Regions from separate parts of the Homo sapiens genome. Here all the other regions are linked to region 1. The links are contacts of gene promoters, found by promoter capture Hi-C in human tissues and cell types (Jung and others, 2019). All regions are on one chromosome and are shown on one strand. The core of a region is centred on a gene start or on the middle of the fragment in contact, and the rest is flanking DNA. Distances in the headings are between cores, read along the strand shown.

The links. Contacts are between HindIII fragments. The study calls those that stand out against the background at their distance.
Region 2: a contact is called between a fragment that was not itself captured here and the fragment with the promoter of RAB15 in region 1, in 1 of the 25 tissues and cell types used here (dorsolateral prefrontal cortex).
Region 3: a fragment that was not itself captured here is called in contact with the fragment with the promoter of RAB15 in region 1 in 2 of the 25 tissues and cell types used here (dorsolateral prefrontal cortex and hippocampus).
Region 4: a fragment that was not itself captured here is called in contact with the fragment with the promoter of RAB15 in region 1 in 1 of the 25 tissues and cell types used here (H1 embryonic stem cells).
Region 5: a fragment that was not itself captured here is called in contact with the fragment with the promoter of RAB15 in region 1 in 1 of the 25 tissues and cell types used here (spleen).

What each region holds. Positions count from the first base shown.
Region 1 is chr14:64,970,883-64,974,163 of GRCh38, forward strand. RAB15 (RAB15, member RAS oncogene family) reads right to left here and starts at 1,454. Exons shown (of 7, transcript NM_001308154.2): 1 at 1,071-1,454. The coding sequence starts at 1,194. All of the region lies in intron 3 of CHURC1-FNTB (CHURC1-FNTB readthrough), which reads left to right. RefSeq lists a silencer at 1,247-1,616. The HindIII fragment of the contact is 7,421 bases long and covers 1-3,281 here.
Region 2 is chr14:64,488,308-64,491,588 of GRCh38, forward strand. It overlaps ZBTB25 (zinc finger and BTB domain containing 25), which reads right to left. Exons shown (of 3, transcript NM_006977.5): 2 at 2,054-2,233. The coding sequence starts at 2,226. Among named protein-coding and RNA genes, the nearest start is that of ZBTB25, 14 kb to the right of the region's middle. The HindIII fragment of the contact is 3,901 bases long and covers 1-3,281 here.
Region 3 is chr14:64,516,744-64,520,024 of GRCh38, forward strand. All of the region lies in intron 1 of ZBTB1 (zinc finger and BTB domain containing 1), which reads left to right. HSPA2-AS1 (HSPA2 and ZBTB1 antisense RNA 1) reads right to left here. Exons shown (of 4, transcript NR_110550.1): 3 at 1,614-1,795. Among named protein-coding and RNA genes, the nearest start is that of ZBTB1, 14 kb to the left of the region's middle. The HindIII fragment of the contact is 5,320 bases long and covers 1-3,281 here.
Region 4 is chr14:64,537,473-64,540,753 of GRCh38, forward strand. HSPA2-AS1 (HSPA2 and ZBTB1 antisense RNA 1) reads right to left here and starts at 2,896. Exons shown (of 4, transcript NR_110550.1): 1 at 2,845-2,896. It overlaps HSPA2 (heat shock protein family A (Hsp70) member 2), which reads left to right and starts at 3,269. Exons shown (of 1, transcript NM_021979.4): 1 at 3,269-3,281. RefSeq lists a silencer at 3,044-3,133. The HindIII fragment of the contact is 3,230 bases long and covers 64-3,281 here.
Region 5 is chr14:65,230,018-65,233,298 of GRCh38, forward strand. No RefSeq gene overlaps it. Among named protein-coding and RNA genes, the nearest start is that of LINC02324, 9.3 kb to the left of the region's middle. The HindIII fragment of the contact is 3,277 bases long and covers 19-3,281 here.

The DNA.
Region 1 (3,281 bases), core at 204-2,703:
TGTGTGTTGGGGGGAGGGGGGATGGTGTGGACATGAATCCTCAAGAGGAAGCTGAGAGCTGGTGCCCATCCCTGATGGCAGCAGGGACTTCTAGGAGAGCATTCCAAATGGATGACCAGCCAGCCAGCAGGTGTTTCCAGGGGCCTGGGCAATGCAGAGGCTACTCCAGGGCTGACCCGGGTAGCAGCTGAGGATGAAATTCCCTCTACTCAGACTTCTCAGGGAGGGGGCCCCTCACAGCCTAGAAGCGGGAGACTGACTGTCTCAGAGGGGAGGCCATGGACCCATTCCTAGAATAAGTGACCCCATCATAGTGCTGTCTGGGATGCCACCGGGTCTTGTCCCTCTAACCACAGGCTCCAGCACTGCCAGATGAGAGATGCCCTCAGGCGGGTCCTGCCTGCCTTCTGACCCCTTGGTCTGGGCAGGTATTCCTGACACTCCTCCATCCTCTTTAGCCTCCCTCAGAACAGATGTCTCCTCTTCCCAGGCGCAGGGGCTCCTCACCCTATCTGTGTCCTCCCCCAGGTGTCCCACCTTGCGGCTTACCTTCCCAACTCTGCCCTGGAAACTCGATCCCTGTGGCCCCTCCGTACGTCCTCTCTTCCCCCCCTCGCCCCCCGCCGGCTCCACCTTGGGTCACCACAGAACCAAGGGCGCCTCAGTGACTCCGGTCTCCACCCTGACCCCCTTTTCCGTAGCAGAAGCTTTACTTCCCCTCCCCCTGGGGGTGTGGGGATGTTATTCCAGCGGCTACGATTCTTGCTACCCCAGCTCGGGGTACCCAGGCCTACACCAGCTCCCCTCACCCCCGGTTTCTCGGTTTGATGGGACGGAAGGCTTCCCGGCAAGAGGCGGGAGACCCCACCCCTGGTCCGGACGGCAGGCAGCAGGGACACCCTCACCTGCCAAAACCTATGCTCACCCCGAGATTTATCCCGGACTCCGGCCTCCGGCGCCACCGCCTCCAGCCGGAGGGGCTGGCAATTCCTCCCCAGCTGGGGACGGGGGCGGCGGGGAAAGGGGCCGCGGGCGGGGAGGGAGGGGCGCCCCGGGCCACCGCCCCTTACCGATGGTGGAGATGTGCGAGGAGTGGAACTCGTTGTCGGTGAAGCGGCACAGCAGGCAGGTCTTGCCCACCCCGGAGTCCCCGATCAGCAGCAGCCGGAACAGCACATCGTACTGCTTCGCCATGACTGGGGCCAGCGGGGCCGGGAACTGCGGGCGGGCAGCGGGCTCAGCCCTGCTCCGCCGCTGCCATCGCGGCCCGCGCCCGCCCGGGGACGCTGCGGGCGGCGAGGAGGACGCCGGGCCCGGCCCCCGCGGCTGCCTCGCCCGCCCGCCTGCCCACTCGCTCGCTGGGTGCCGGGAAGCGCGGCTGCGGCGGGAGCCCGGCGCGGCGCCCGCTCGGCTCGGCTCGGCTCGGCTGGGCTGGCGCGAGGCGGTGGGAGGAGAAACCGGCGGCGGCCCCTGCCCGCCCCTTCCCCTGCGCCGCCGCCGCCGCCCCGGAGAGAGGGGGCGGGGAGCGCGCGCAGGAGAGCGGGACCCCATCGAGCAGGCGACGCTGGGGCGGGGCGCCAGCCCCCCCTCCCAACCCCTTCCTGCCCGGGGCGGGGGAACGTTTTCGTTTTTCCGCGGACGCTCCGAATGGGGGAGTTGAGGTGAGCCCCCACCCAGCCCACTTCTACCGTGCTCCGCTTTCCGGGCTCACCACTTCTCCCCATATCCCACCCCAAGTCTGGCGCCGGTAATTCCGCCCGCCGTGGCACCCTGCATCTGCAGGATCTGGCCGGGCTCCCCAGTGGCTGGTACCTCAGCTGGGCTCACCCGAGGTAGGAAGGCCTTGAGCAGGATCTGGATTCGAACACCCGTCTCCATGAGTCCCCGAGAGTGTGGGTGGAATTCCCCCTCCCTGCCATCTGGCTGCCCCTTACCTGTGTGACTGTGTCACGGCCCTCCCCCGTCCCCATTTTTTCTTTAAATGGGGAAAATGCCTATTCACGGCCTCCACCAGGGTGAAAAGATAGATGGCCATAAGAACATCTCCAAGTGCAAAATCCTTTAGAGGTGTGCGGGCAAGTCTCCGTTTTCCCTCTAAGGTGCTTAGGATAGGTGCCCAGGTGACCAATGTATTGTTTCAGACCCCTAAATTTCTCTGTGGTATAGCCAGTGGCACCAAAGAATGAATGGCCCTTGTTCAAGATCCAGTTTCCTACCACTGAATGTGTTAGCACCGGAGAGAGGCAAATGAATGCTCTCCGGAGTTGAGAAAATTGCCTATCCCTACCAACGAGTATTGAGGGAGAGCAAAGTCTAGCCTATTAGGTCTTTAAAAAGCAATGAAAGGCTAGGCGCGTTGGCTCATGCCTGTAATCCCAGTACTTTGGGAGGCTGAGGCGGGCAGATCACTTTGAGGTCAGGAGCTGGAGACCAGCCTGGCCAATGTAGTGAAACCCAGTCTCTACTAAAAATAAAAAAAAATTAGCTGGGCACGGTGGCTCGCCTGTAATCCCAGGCTTGAGAGGCTGAGGTGGGAGGATTGCTTGAACCCATTAGGGGAAGGCTGCAGTGAGCCGAGATCATGACACTGCACTCCAGCCTGCGCAACAGAGGGAGACCTTGTCTCAAAAAAAAAAAAAAAAAAGCAATGAAAAGTATATATGTACATACCTGTTTTCAGGCTGAATATTGGATGGAGAATGTATTTTTCAATAGTAGGTCAAGGAAAGTGGTAAGCCCATTTACTTCATTTGAAAAGGTATATTTCAGGTTAAGTGTCTGAATTATAATAAGAGGGGAAAAGTTCAAGACCAGCCTGGCCAACATGGTGAAACCCCATCTCTACTAAAAATATAAAAAAATTAGCTGGGCGTGGTGGCCGGTGCCTGTAATCCCAGCTACTCGGGAGGCTGAGGCAGGAGAATTGCTTGAACCTGAGAGGCGAAGGTTGCGGTGAGCCGAGATTGCGCCATTGCACTCCAGCCTGGGCAACAAGAGCAAAACTCTGTCTCAAAAAAAAAAAAAAAAAAAAGCCGGGGGGCGAAATCCCGAGCCTGCTAGCTACTCTGATTACACAGAAAGCTAAAGGAACTGATGTAGTGGATTCCATTATTTCGAGGTGCGCGTCTCCACAGTGGGCTTACATGGGGTTTCAGGTGCATGCCAAGGGCTCTGGAGTAAGGCACACTTGGGTTCCAGTCCCAGTGTCACCACTCACCAGCTGTGCAATCTTGAGCACATTACTGAACCCCCCTGTGACTCAGTTTCCTCATCTCAAAATA
Region 2 (3,281 bases), core at 277-2,776, 480 kb before region 1:
ACATTAATCAAGTGACTCCTAAGTGATATGCACTATACTAGATGCCAGCGGTAGAAAACTGATGAATAAAATAGGTACCTGCTCTTAAGGAATTTAACAGTCTATCAAGTAAACGATCAAAAGAACTAAAAACAGGGACTCAAACAGATACCTGTATGCCAATGTTCACTGCAACATTACTTACAGTAGCCAAAAGGTAGAAAGAAGCTGAGTGTTCACCAAAAGATGAGTGGATAAACACAAGATGGCTTACACACACAATGGAATATTATTCAACCATAAAAAGAAGGAAGTTCTGATACATGCTACAACATGGAGAACCCAGAAAATATCATGCTAAGTAAAATAAGCCAGACACAAAAGGACAAGTATTATATAAAATATCTAGAATAGGCAAATTCATAGAGATAGAAAGTAAATTAGCGGTTTCTGGGGGTTGAGAGGGTGAGATGGGGAGTTATTGCTTAATGGGTACAAAGTTTCTGTTTGGGGTGATAAAAAAGTTTTGGAAATAGACAGTGGTAATGGTTGTACAACATTGCGAATGTGATTATCACCACTGCATTGTATAATTAAAAATGGTTAAAATGGCAAATTTTATATGTTTATAGCCACAATAAAGATATCTTAAAACTTCTGAAAGAACCTATTGAAATCAGCAGGGTGCGGTGGCTCACGCCTGTAATTCCAGCACTTTGGGAGGCCGAGGCAGGTGGATCATCTGAGGTCAGGAGTTCAAGAGGAGCCTAACCAACATGGTGAAACCCTGTCTCTACTAAAATTACAAAAAATTAGCCGGGTGTGGTGGCGCACACCTGTGGTCCTAGCTACTAGGGAGACTGAAGCAAGAGAATTGCTTGAACCTGGGAGGCGGAGGTTGCAGTGAGCTGAGATCATGCCACTGCACTTCAGCCTGGGCACCACTGCACTCCAGCCTGGGTGACAGAGCTAGACTCCGTCTCAAAAAAAATAAAAATAAAAAATAAAAAAAACAAAAGTGTTATATGAAACAAAAATTAACAGCTTAGTGACTAAAAGCATAGACATAGCTTCAGACAAATCTGCATCTAACTTATTAGCTGTATAATCCTGCATGGGCATGTTACTTAACTCAGTCTCAGTTTTCTTTTTCCTGAAATAGGGACAGCAGTAGAATTTACATTATAGGGCAAATACTTAGTGCTTGGGTATGGGATAAGCCTTCAATAAATTTTAGCTATTCTTTCCTTTTTCTTTTTTTTTTTTTGAGACAGAGTCTCGCTCTGTCACCCAGGCTGGAATGCAGTGGCGCGATCTCGGCTCACTGCAACCTTCACCTCATAGGTACACGCAATTCTCCTCCCTCAGCCTCCCGAGTAGCTGGGACTACAGGCGCCCACCACCATGCCTGGCTAATTTTTGTATTTTTAGTAGAGACGGGGTTTCACCATATTGGCCAGGCTGGTCTCGAACTCCTGACCTTGTGATCCGCCCACCTTGGCCTCCCAAAGTGCTGGGATTACAGGCGTGAGCCATGGCGCCCAGCCAATTTTAGCTATTCTTATTTTCATTCTTATTTTCCATTATGGATCCTACACACTGAGTTTAATTACTAATGTATAAAAAATTATTATAATTTGGCCAGGCATGGTGGCTCATGCCTGTAATCCCAGCACTTTGGGAGGCTGAGGCAGGCGGATCACCTGAGGTCAGGAGTTTGAGATCAGCCTGGCCAACATGGTGAAACCCTGCCTCTACTAAAAATACAAAAATTAACCGGGCGTGGTGGCAGGCGCCTGTAATCCCAGGTACTCGGGAGGCTGAGGCAGGAGAATCGCTTGTACCTGGGAGGCAGAGGTTGCAGTGAGCCGACACTGAACCATTGCACTCCAGCCTGGGTGACAGAGCAAGACTCTGTCGCCAAAAAAAAAAAAAAAAAAAAAAAAAAAAAAAAAAAATTATAATTTTACTTCTTAGTGTGACTCCGTAACAAAGAATTTCCAAAATGATACTATAATAAAGCTTATATAAATCACAATATTAAAAATTCTTATTTACAAAAACACATCCTTACCTTGTTTGGTGAATAAATATCATCTTGAAATAGTTAGAAAAAGCAGCAAGCACTGCTCTGTGGGCTTTGAAGTAAACATCTCCAATTGCAACTGTGCAATCACACAGAAAACCAAATTCTCGCTGCATGTTCAGCTGCTGGAGAAGAACAAGGCTATGGCTGGCAGTGTCCATTGTGGTTCTGAAAAAAAGGACAAGATAAATGTAGATAGGTGTGTATGTATATACGCATTATTTTTTATTAATACAAAATTGTCTACAGTTCACACAAACCTACAGAGTAACAAGGAGATCTAAATTTAAATGAAATTATTCAAGTTTTCAATCCTATTACTTTCACTGCAAACACGGCTAACACTAAATTCCTCCATTATGACAACTGATATAAACTCTGCTGAACCATAAAATATGACCCTTTTTCATCTGGTAAGAAGATAGCTTGGTATGAGTGACACATGAAGACAGACCTGTCCTTTTCCATCTATGTGAACACAATGTTTCTAATCTTGTTTCCTCATTAGAAAAATGAAAATGAGATACTGATTCCTGCCTCAGAGTTAAATAACTTATGTGAAAATCATGTTGTAATGGAAACTGCTATTCGATGTTAGCTATAAATGTTAATAACATAACACGGTATCCTGGCTGAGCTAGAGATGTCACTCCTCCTCAGGGATCCTCTGGTGCTCAGGGGATACTGGCTTCCCAACTCTCATCAAATGTTTGGGGGACTTATCATCACAGTAGCTCAGGAACTCTTAAAATAGATGTCAAGCCACATCCCCAATTTACTTGTGGCCCAAGAGCCTCCTGAGAAAGAACTTAAGCTGGCGCAGTGGCTCATGCCTGTAATCCCAGCACCTTGGGAGGATGAGGCAGGAGGGTTGCTTGAGCCCAGGTATTGGAGACCAACCTGAGCAATATAGTGAAACGTCATCTCCACAAAAAATAAAACAATTAGCTAGGTATGGTGGCATGCACCTGTACTCCCAACTACTTGAGGGGCTGAGGCAGGAGGATCACTTAAGACTGGGAGGTCAAGGCTGCAGTGAGCTGTGATCACACCACTGCACTCCAGCCTGGGCAACAGTGAGACTCTGTCTCAAAAACACACACACACACACAAAAGAAAGAACTGATCTCAACTGGATTCAGACGCATATTATAATGTAGGTTCCCAAAGGAAGTAAAAGGCAAGGTGGAACAACTGCGGGGAAGCCTATATGAGG
Region 3 (3,281 bases), core at 782-3,281, 450 kb before region 1:
TACCAAAGGTAGTCAGTAAATGTTTGTTGAATGAATAAATGTGCATTAAAATGCTATAAGTGCTCTTATTTAAATGTTTTAGTGTTTTATGTTAATAAAAGAATATGTATTTTTACTCAGTTGAATTGTGACTATAGCTATAGATGTGCCTATCATATTGATCTTCTATGTAGTTGTATTAATTTTGGTTGCTGATGATAAAACTGCTGCTCATCTAGATAAGAAAGGGTCTTTGGAACTTCTGTGCTCTTTATATCATTATTTCAAGCCTGGACTATTTAATACTTGAAAGTTTTTATAGATTAACTACTGGCTTTCTAATGGACTGTTATTTGGAAGGAAATTTTAAGGTTATCAACTCAAACTTACCTGATGCTTAAATAAGCATCACCACCATTACAACATCCACTATTACTTTCATTATTACATGCCAAGCACGATGCATTTTACACATTGCCTCTGTGAATCCTCATATATGATACTGTATTTGAGGTATTATCCCTACCTTTTCAGTTCAGGAAACTTAGGGTCAATGAGGATAAGCAAGTTCCCAAAAGTGGCAAAGCTAGATAAGAAGCCAGGTCTGTCTGATCCTAGGCCCATGCTCTTTTCACTTATTATACTGTCCTCAATAGCATTCTGTTCCTGCTTTAATATGGGTACTCATTCTCCAAACAAGTTTGTTTCATTCTTGAATTACTCTTATTAATAGAAAGTTTGGTTTTTTAGAAATAATACCTATCCCTCTGCCTCTTACTCTATAGTTTATTATTTATTAAATGTCTCTCTGAATCCTAGAAAAATGACTATAGACATAGAAATTTCATCCTACTTAAAACGGGCTTGGGTCAACATTTTTGTGTATTTTTTTCATCTTTTTTCCCCCCACCTTTTGAATAAGGTTGTGGCGTGGATTTGTTTTATATAATTCTAACATAATTATGTATCCTGTGTTTATTTATTTGGCTCTCCATCTTGAACATTTTTCCCACTTCTGTAGTTGCCATTTAGAAATATATATATATATATATATATATATTTTTTTTTTTTTTTTTTTTTTGAGACAGTCTTGCTCTGTCAGCCAGGCTGGAGTACAGTGGCATGATCTCGACTCACTGCAACCTCCCTCAGCCAGGCTGGAGTACAGTGGCATGATCTCGGCTCACTGCAACCTCCCTCTCCCAGGCGCAAGCAATTCTCTTGCCTCAGCCTCCCGAGTAGCTGGGTTTACAGGCATGTGCCACCACGCCCGGCTAATTTTTATATATTTTTTAGTAGAGATGGGGTTTCACCATGTTGGCCAGGCTGATCTTGAACTCCTGACCTCAGGTAATCCGCCCACCTTGGCCTCCCAAAGTGCTGGGATTACAGGCATGAGCCACTGCGCCTGGCCCAGAAATACAATTTTTAATTCACTGCCACATGACAGTGAATTCTGGGGCGTAGATTTACCTTAAGACTCCTTTTTTTACTAGGCATTCAAATGAGAAGTAACTCATTAATGACTATCTTTGTGCATACATTGCTTTTTGTATTTAGATACATACTGAACATGATTCCTCACAGCTTTTTACAGATACCTGAGTTACAGAGGTTTGAAATATTGTACTTACTTGAAACTTGATCTGGCTTCCAGAAAAGGTGCAGTGGTTGCAATTTTAAGAAGGCAGCAGGTTTCATCATAAGCCATCTTCATTTCACCAGTCCTGTATCTCTGGCTATGGAACTTTATGTCTTAGAGGTGGCAGGATGGGCATATAGGTAGTAAAAGGGGCGTATGACCCATATGTGATCGCTGAGGAATGGATAAAAAGCAAATAGAAGTACGTAAACGTAGATACCCTTAATTACTACTACAGAGCTTGAAGAGTGAACATTTTATTTCTCTAAACAGCTTGTTACATGTTCTTTTTAAGTTCAGTCAAATTGCATAGGAACTTATTTTTAAGTAGAAGATAGATTCTGAAGCTTTATGTATACGGATTAAAAATTGAGGCTAAAATTTGATCTTATTTTAACTTTATAATATGATAGGATTTCTAGTGCTTTTAATACTTCCTCTCCTTTCTTCCTTATCCAAAGTCAGCTCCCTACACTAAAAATACTTAAATGCCCACTAATATTGTCTAATGTTAAATGAAGAAAACTAGTTGCAGAGAGGTATATATATATATATATATATATATATATATAGTATGATACCATTTAGGTTAAAAAACACAACAAAAGCAAAACTATGTGCCTGGCATCTCATAGGTACTCAATATGCTAACTATGTACATGTGCATCTCAACAAATCTGAAGGTATATAATCCAGAGTGTTTGGAGGGGTTACCTCTGAAAAGAGGTGTGTGATCTGAGGTGTGTTTTTATTCTATATGCCTCTATGTTTGAATTTTTTGCTACTTTTTTTTTTTTTTTTGAGATGGAGTCTCGTTCTTGTCACCCAGGCTGGAGTGTAGTGGCACAATCTCTGCTCCCTGCAACCTCCGCCTTCTGGGTTCAAGCGATTCTCCCGCCTCAGCCTCCCGAGTAGCTGGGATTACAGGCGCCCGCTATCACGACTGGCTAACTTTTTTTATTTTTAGTAGAGACAGGTTTTCACCGTGTTGGCCAGGCTGGTCTCGAACTCCTGACCTCAGCCTCACCCTTCCAAAGTGCTGGGATTACAGGCATGAGCCACCGCGCTCAGCCTTACTTTTTTCTTTTAACAATTAAAAAAAAAAAAAAATAGAAGAGGCCAGGTGCAGTGGCTCACACCCACAATCCCAGCACTTTGGAAGCCCGAGGCAGGAGGATCGCTTGAACTCAGGAGTTCAAGACCAGCCTGGACAACATAGCAAGACCTTGTCTTTACTAAAATATTAAAAAAAAAAAAACAAAAAAAAACTGAATGTGGTGGCATGTGCCTACAGTCCCAGCTACTCTGGATGCTGTGGCGGGAGGATTGCTTGAGCATGGGAGATTGAGGCTGCAGTTAGCTATGATCATGCCACTGCACTCCAGCCTAGGTAACAGAGCGAGACCCTGCCTCAAAAAAAAAAAAAGGAAGAAAACTTTACACTCTAAGGATAAATAAAATACCTTCTCAAATAAACCCACTGCTTCTTTATACCCTGAAATGCATGTTGAGCAACATGAGACACATTCTAACTCTATAGAATTATTGCTTCTTTGATAATTCAAGAAAAGACAAAGGCACTGATCAAACTTGTTTGGTGCCATTTCTATATAATCTAATAAGGTTGTTGTTGTTGTTGTTGTTGTTGTTGTTTTGAAAC
Region 4 (3,281 bases), core at 429-2,928, 430 kb before region 1:
CCCAGCTATCTGGAAGGCTGAGGCACGACAATCTCTTGGACCAAGGAGGCAGAGGTTGCAGTGAGCCACTGCACTCCAGCCTGGCGACAGAACAAGACTCTGTCTCAAAAAAAACCAAACAAATACCCCCCACCCCCAAACTACACAAAAGACAAGAATTTCCAAGAATAAAATCAAGAGATCTGTACTCACAATTTATGACAGTTTCAATTAGAAAAGTCTGGGTTTTATCCTTGTTTTCCTAATATTTTCTTTTCTTTTTCTTTTTTTTTTTAGACAGAGTCTTGCTCTGTCGCCCAGGCTGGAGTGCAGTGGCGTGATCTCAGCTCACTGCAACCTCTGCCTCCCGGATTCAAGCAATCCTCTGCCTCAGCCTCCCAAGTAGCTGGGATTACAGGCGCCCACCACCAGGCCCGGCTAATTTTTGTATTTTTAGTAGAGACAGGGTTTCACCATCTTGGCCAGGCTGGTCTTGAACTTCTGACCTCGTGATCCACGCGCCTCGGCCTCCCAAAGTGCTGGGATTACAGGCATGAGCCACCGCGTCCAGCCTTTCTAATATTTTCTTTAAAACGTCCCCTTTTTCAAAATTTTTTCAAATTCATGGAAAAGAGGATAGGAATTATGGTTAAAATTAGTACTAACTGATGACATTAACCGATTAATAACCAATTATGTTCTTAAAAACTGGAAATGATATACACCACTAGATAAAATAATCTTAAATGTTCATTGACTTTATAGAATTCTCTCAACATTACTTTTTGGTCACAGATAACTTCTGGGTTGACAAAAGCTTTTCTCCAGCGCCATTTCATACAGCTTTTACATGGCTGCACATCACTAGCCTGCTTTAAAGGACGGTGCTCCCAGCCCAAAGCCTCAGGAAAAAGACCATGGCTCAAAAAGCTCTGAGATGTATCCTATCCACCTGAAGAGCCTATTGCTTGCCTGTATCCCTCCCTTCTAGTGACACTAATCTTCTGTACAGAAATCCTAGTCCAGCAAACATTGCTCTCATCTTCGCCCATACACAACCTATGTAAAGAATGGCTTTCCTACTCTTTGCTGGCGAACTTCAGCTCCCGGATTAGGCATGCCACCTCTTCCAGGTAGCTCTCAGCAACGCACTTTTCCATCAGCCTGGGTGTGCCCCTCTGTGTTCCCATGGCGCTTTGCTTTCAGCGCTTCTCCCAAATTATGTTTACCTGTTTATTAGACTCTCCACCTCTGAAGACCAGGCCATTTCATTTGGCTTTTTACTGCCACGTAGTAGGTACCTGTTCAAGCTTGATGGAAGGACTTCCCCAGCCTCCCCACACATATTATGTAAAGTGATCGCTGTCTTTGCTTCCTCCTGGAGACCATTTATTTTATTTTTTTGAGACGGAGTCTCGTTCTGTCGCCCAGGCTGGAGTGCAGTGTCGCAATCTCGACTGACTGCAACCTCTGCCTCTCGAGTAGCTGGGACTACAGGCGCGCGCCACCACGCCCGGCTAATTTTTGTATTTTTAGTAGAGACGGGGTTTCACCATGTTGGCCAGGCTGGCCTCGAACTTCTGACAGCAAGTGATCCACCTACCGCGGCCTTTCAAAGTGCTGAAACTACAGGCATGAGCCTCCACACCCGTCCAGGAGCCCATTTATATGGGAGCCTGCTTCTAAAGATTATTACCTGGTGCCAGGGTATTTTCCAGACCTGTCCTCACATTCCTGTTAAACAGGAGGAAGTGAATCGCGCTCCTTTTCATCTACCTTCTCGGAGGGTTTATGCCTCCAATATTAACCTCAGCACAGCCAAAGAAAATCATTCCATTCCATTGAGCGGAGTCAGAAACATGACTAGGTCACGATCACAACCCCGTGTGTGCCAGGGTGACCGAGACTGGGTGACTTTATGGTGTTTCAACGTGTGGGTTTTGACTGATTATATTATGGGTTTTCCAGTCAAAAACTCAAAGCAGTGGATAAAGCACTTGCGACCTAAAATAAGCAATGGAATGAACAGGAAGGCGAAACCAGAGTTTAAAGCGGCAGGACAAACAGGAAAAAGGAAGAGTGAGGCAGGAAGGGTTTAAATGCAGGCTCCTCGGAGGACAAGTCGCCGCCACACCCCTGTCTGCCGTCCCGCCAGCCGCCCTCACGCGGCGCGGGAAAACGGTCGGCCTCGCCCTGGGCTCAGGTTCTCTCCGCCCGCCAGGCAGTGGGGTTTTTTTTTGTTTTTTTTGAGACGGAGTCTCGCTCAGTCGCCCAGGCTGGAGTGTAGTGGCGTGATCTCGGCTCACTGCAACCTCCACCTCCCGGGTTCAAGCGATTCTCCTGCCTCAGCCTCCCGAGTAGCTGAGACTACAGGCACGCGCCACCACGCCCAGCTAATTTTTGTATCTTTAGTAGAGACGGGCTTTCACCATGTTGGCCAGGATGGTCTCGATGTCTTAACGTCGTGATCCGGCCGCCTCGGCCTCCCAAGTGCTGGGATTACAGGCGTTAGCCACTGCGCCCGGCCCCAGCCAGGCAGTTTTAATCGAGCGCTCACAACCACTGAGACGCAGTGAAGCACCCACCATAAAATCCCAGGAGGCCGACCGCCGGTTCAGACTTTTTCTTTTCTTTAATCCCCGTCCAAGGGATCCGCCCTCACCCCCCACCCCAGCCACCCCAATTCCCTATTCCCTCCCCTTGGACGGCGCCGGGGAAAACAAGCTGCTCGAGCTTTATTTCTTCGGTGCAACCAACTCAGAATGAATTCCTCCGCCCCTGCGTGCTCAGTGAGTCGGCACCCTAGCAGTGAACTGCATTTAAAACCTCAGGAATTGAGCGAACTCTCCCAGTGGCTCTCCTCACCGGGATCCCCTTCCACGCCTCCTCCCCGTGCCGCGCCTCAGTCCGCACTGCTCATTGGCCGCGTGCCCTGCCAATCCGATGCACGTCGGCTAGGGCAAAGACCGCGAAAAAGCGCGTACACCTGGCTCTGGGAGCGCGCGCCTAACGCCAGCCAGCAGCAGGAGGCGCGCGAGGCACCACGGCCTGGCGGCCGAGAGTCAGGGAGGAACCTCATTTACATAACGGCCGCCCCTCTGTCTCCTGGCGGGGGCCGGAGTCCCGCCCCTCGTCCAACTTGAAATCTGTTGGGTCACGGGCCAGTCACTCCGACCTAGGCAAGCCTGTGGTGGAGCTGGAAGAGTTTGTGAGGGCGGTCCCGGGAGCGGATTGGGTCTGGGAGTTCCCAGAGGCGGCTATAAGAACCGGGAACTGGGCGCGGGGAGCTGAGTTGCTGGTAG
Region 5 (3,281 bases), core at 407-2,906, 260 kb after region 1:
GAAGGGAGAGAGGCCTGACATTTTCCCAACCCCTGAAAGTGAAAGAAGAAAGGGCTCTTTACTTTCAGGGCCACATCCTGAATGACGGGGTCAGTGTCTGCAACTGATCCGTGTGGGCGCAGACTTCTAATTATTTCCTGGATAACCTGTTATCTATTATCCATCGGGCTGCTTGCCAGAGTATGCTAATGTCTCCATCGTTTCTGGTCTGGATTCTGAGGAGCGGGTTTTTGTTTTTTGTTTTAAAGGGGAAGTAGAGTTGGGGGGCAGGCAGCTGTAAGATTCCCGGTAGCAGGAAGGCTGTCCTCTCCTCTGCCGTTAGACTGCATGATGGGGAGCAATGCCCAGGAACCCACGCTGATGCCCCGCGGAAACCGGCAGTCACTCCTCTTTCTCTTGGCTACTTGACTTACGCTCTTCTGGGAGTCTTAGCTTTATCGGAAACTTCTGGAAAAGCTTCTGAGAGAGAAATGTTTTTCTGGACTGCTCTCATTTGCTTGGAGAACAAGGAAACTCTTCAAATAACGTTTTGTTTGGGGACAGGAGGGAAGGGAGGGAGTCAGAATTCAATAGGCCTGTTCTTCTGTTGAGTGGGGGCAGAACTTGGCTGTCATCCAGGTGAGCTCCGTATCAACCATCAGTTACACCCCTGGCCTCTATTATTTGTACTAAGGCACAATGAAATGTCATTGAGTGGGAGGAGTACACAACTATAGGGCATAATTCTTTTTCTTATTATAAAAATAGCATACTTCTGATTCAAGCAACAGAGTCAGAAAAATAAGTACATTTAAAACATTAAAAAATTTTTAAGGTATTGCATGTTTATTTTAAAAATTGAAACTCATACACTGTATACATGTATCAAAATATCACAGTTTCCCATAAATATGTACAATTATTATGTGTCAATTAGAAATAATGATAAAAGCCTGTAATCCTAGCACTTTGGAAGGTGGAGGTGGGCGGATCACTTGAGGTCAGGAGTTCAAGACCAGCCTGGCAAACATGTATAAACCCTGTCTCTACCAAAAATACAAAAATTAGCCGGGCGTGGTGGCAGGCGCCTGTAATTCCAGCTACTGGAGAGGCTGAGGCAGGAGAATTGCTTGAACCTGGGAGGTGGGGGTTGCAGTGAGCTGAGATTGCGCCACTGCACTCCAGCCTGGGTGACACAGCGAGACTCCTTCTCAAAAAATAAAAAATAAAAAAATTATAATAATGATAAAAGCCAAAAAAAAAATTGAAAACTCCAAGAAGAGCAAAAAGAAACCCAAAAGTTCATTCCACAGAGATAATCACTGTTAATATTTTGGTGTATCTTCTTCAACCTTTTAAAATAATGCTAATTTATATCTGCAAGAAACAGGGTGTTTGATTTAAAAGAATACAATGGTGCCCTGTGATTGTTTGGCTGCATCTAGGAGATAATGTGTCCTTTAGCATTGGGGATTAGGATTAACTTTCTCAAATCCTCAGAGGGTCAGTTTTATGAGGCTAAGATAAAGCAAGGCTCCTAGTCCAGCGGGCTCCAGTAGTGTCTAAAATCCAGGACCTTTGGTTTTAAGCACTTATTTCACTTATGTGCATGAAAAGAAGGAGGAAGTTCAGGTGAAGCTGCCCAGGAGTAGAGAAAGACTGCATGTGAATTCATGTGATCAGAAAGCAAACAGGCAGATACTGAACCAGCCGTCCCATGGTAAACATCTAGAAAACTAGACAAAGTACATGAAACGACTGTGTTCACACATCTCAGATATTTCCTGAGAGAAGTGAAACAAATGAGGCGATCCCTACATTGCCGCAGCTTTTTGCCTAGAAGCACATTCCAGACTACTACCTGGAGACGGGAAGCCAAGCAGAACACAGAAGTCTTGCTGAGTTGAGGAGACAGAGACCCAAGGTGGTTGGAATTTGCCAGGCAGATTACCAGGGAGGAGAGAACTGCACAAAGACCTCTAGACACTTGACAAAAGTACTTGTCTAAAGTATTTGGTTGAATACTAGGCTACACATGCCCATGGTAAGGCTCCATGAGTCTGGATAAATAGCAACAATGGGAAATAACAAATACTGGTGAGCTATAAACTGAGCGCTTCCAGAAGCCTATACGTAGTTGGAAGTTTTTTGAGCTCTAGCCAGCTAGCCAGCTAGAATAAATTATTTATTTATAATAATAAACTATTTATTATTAAATATAATAAACTATTGTAGCCAGCTAAAATAAATAGTTCAGTGGGGTCTCACTGAACACCTGGGACATTTAGTAGAGACCCCAGAAAACCTAGGCCTTAGGAGTAAGACTTAACTAGCTCTAGAGAGAAGGTTTCTCTAGGCCTGCTCTCACAAAGCTTGAAAACAAGCCCCAAAAGGATCATGATGATCATTAAGAAACTTAAACTACCTCACTAAAATAAAAAGGACAGTCTCTCAACACCATAACCCTTATAATGTTCAGCATCCACTAAAAAGTTTTTTTTTTTTAGGCGGAGTCTTGCTCTGTCACCCAGGCTGGAGTGCAGTGGCGTGATCTCTGCTCACTGCAAGCTCCGCCTCCCGGGTTCATGCCATTCTCCTGTCTCAGCCTCCCTAGCAGCTGGGACTACGGGCGCCCACCACCATGCCCGGCTAATTTTTTGTATTTTTAGTAGAGACGGGGTTTCACCGTGTTAGCCAGGATAGTCTCAATCTCCTGACCTCGTGATCCTCCTGCCTCAGCCTCCTAAAGTGCTGGAGTTACAGGCATGAGCCACCACACCGGGCCTAAAAAGTTTCTTTAAAATTTTTTTTTGGGCCGGGCATGGTGGCTCATGCCTGTAATCCCAGCACTTTGGGAGGCCGAGGCGGGTGGGTCACCTGAGGTCAGGAGTTCGAGACTAGCCTTGGCCAACATGGTGAAACCCCATCTCTACTAAAAATACAAAAATTAGTCCGGCATGGTGGCACATGCCTGTAATCTCAGCTACTCAGGAGGCTGAGGCAGGAGAATCGCTTGAACCTAGGAGGTGGAGGTTGCCGTGAGCCAAGATGGTGCCATTGCACTCCAGCCTGGGTGACAAGAGTGAAACTTCGTTTTAAAAAAATTTTTAATTTTTCATTTTTGGGGTTACATAGTTGTGTATATATTTATGCGGTACATGAGATACTTTGATACAAGCATGGAATGCATAATAATCCCATCATGGAAAATGGCATATCCTTCTCCTCAAGCATTTATCCTTTGTGTTACAAGCAATCTAATTACATTCTTTTAGTTATTTTAGAATGTATAATTAAATTAT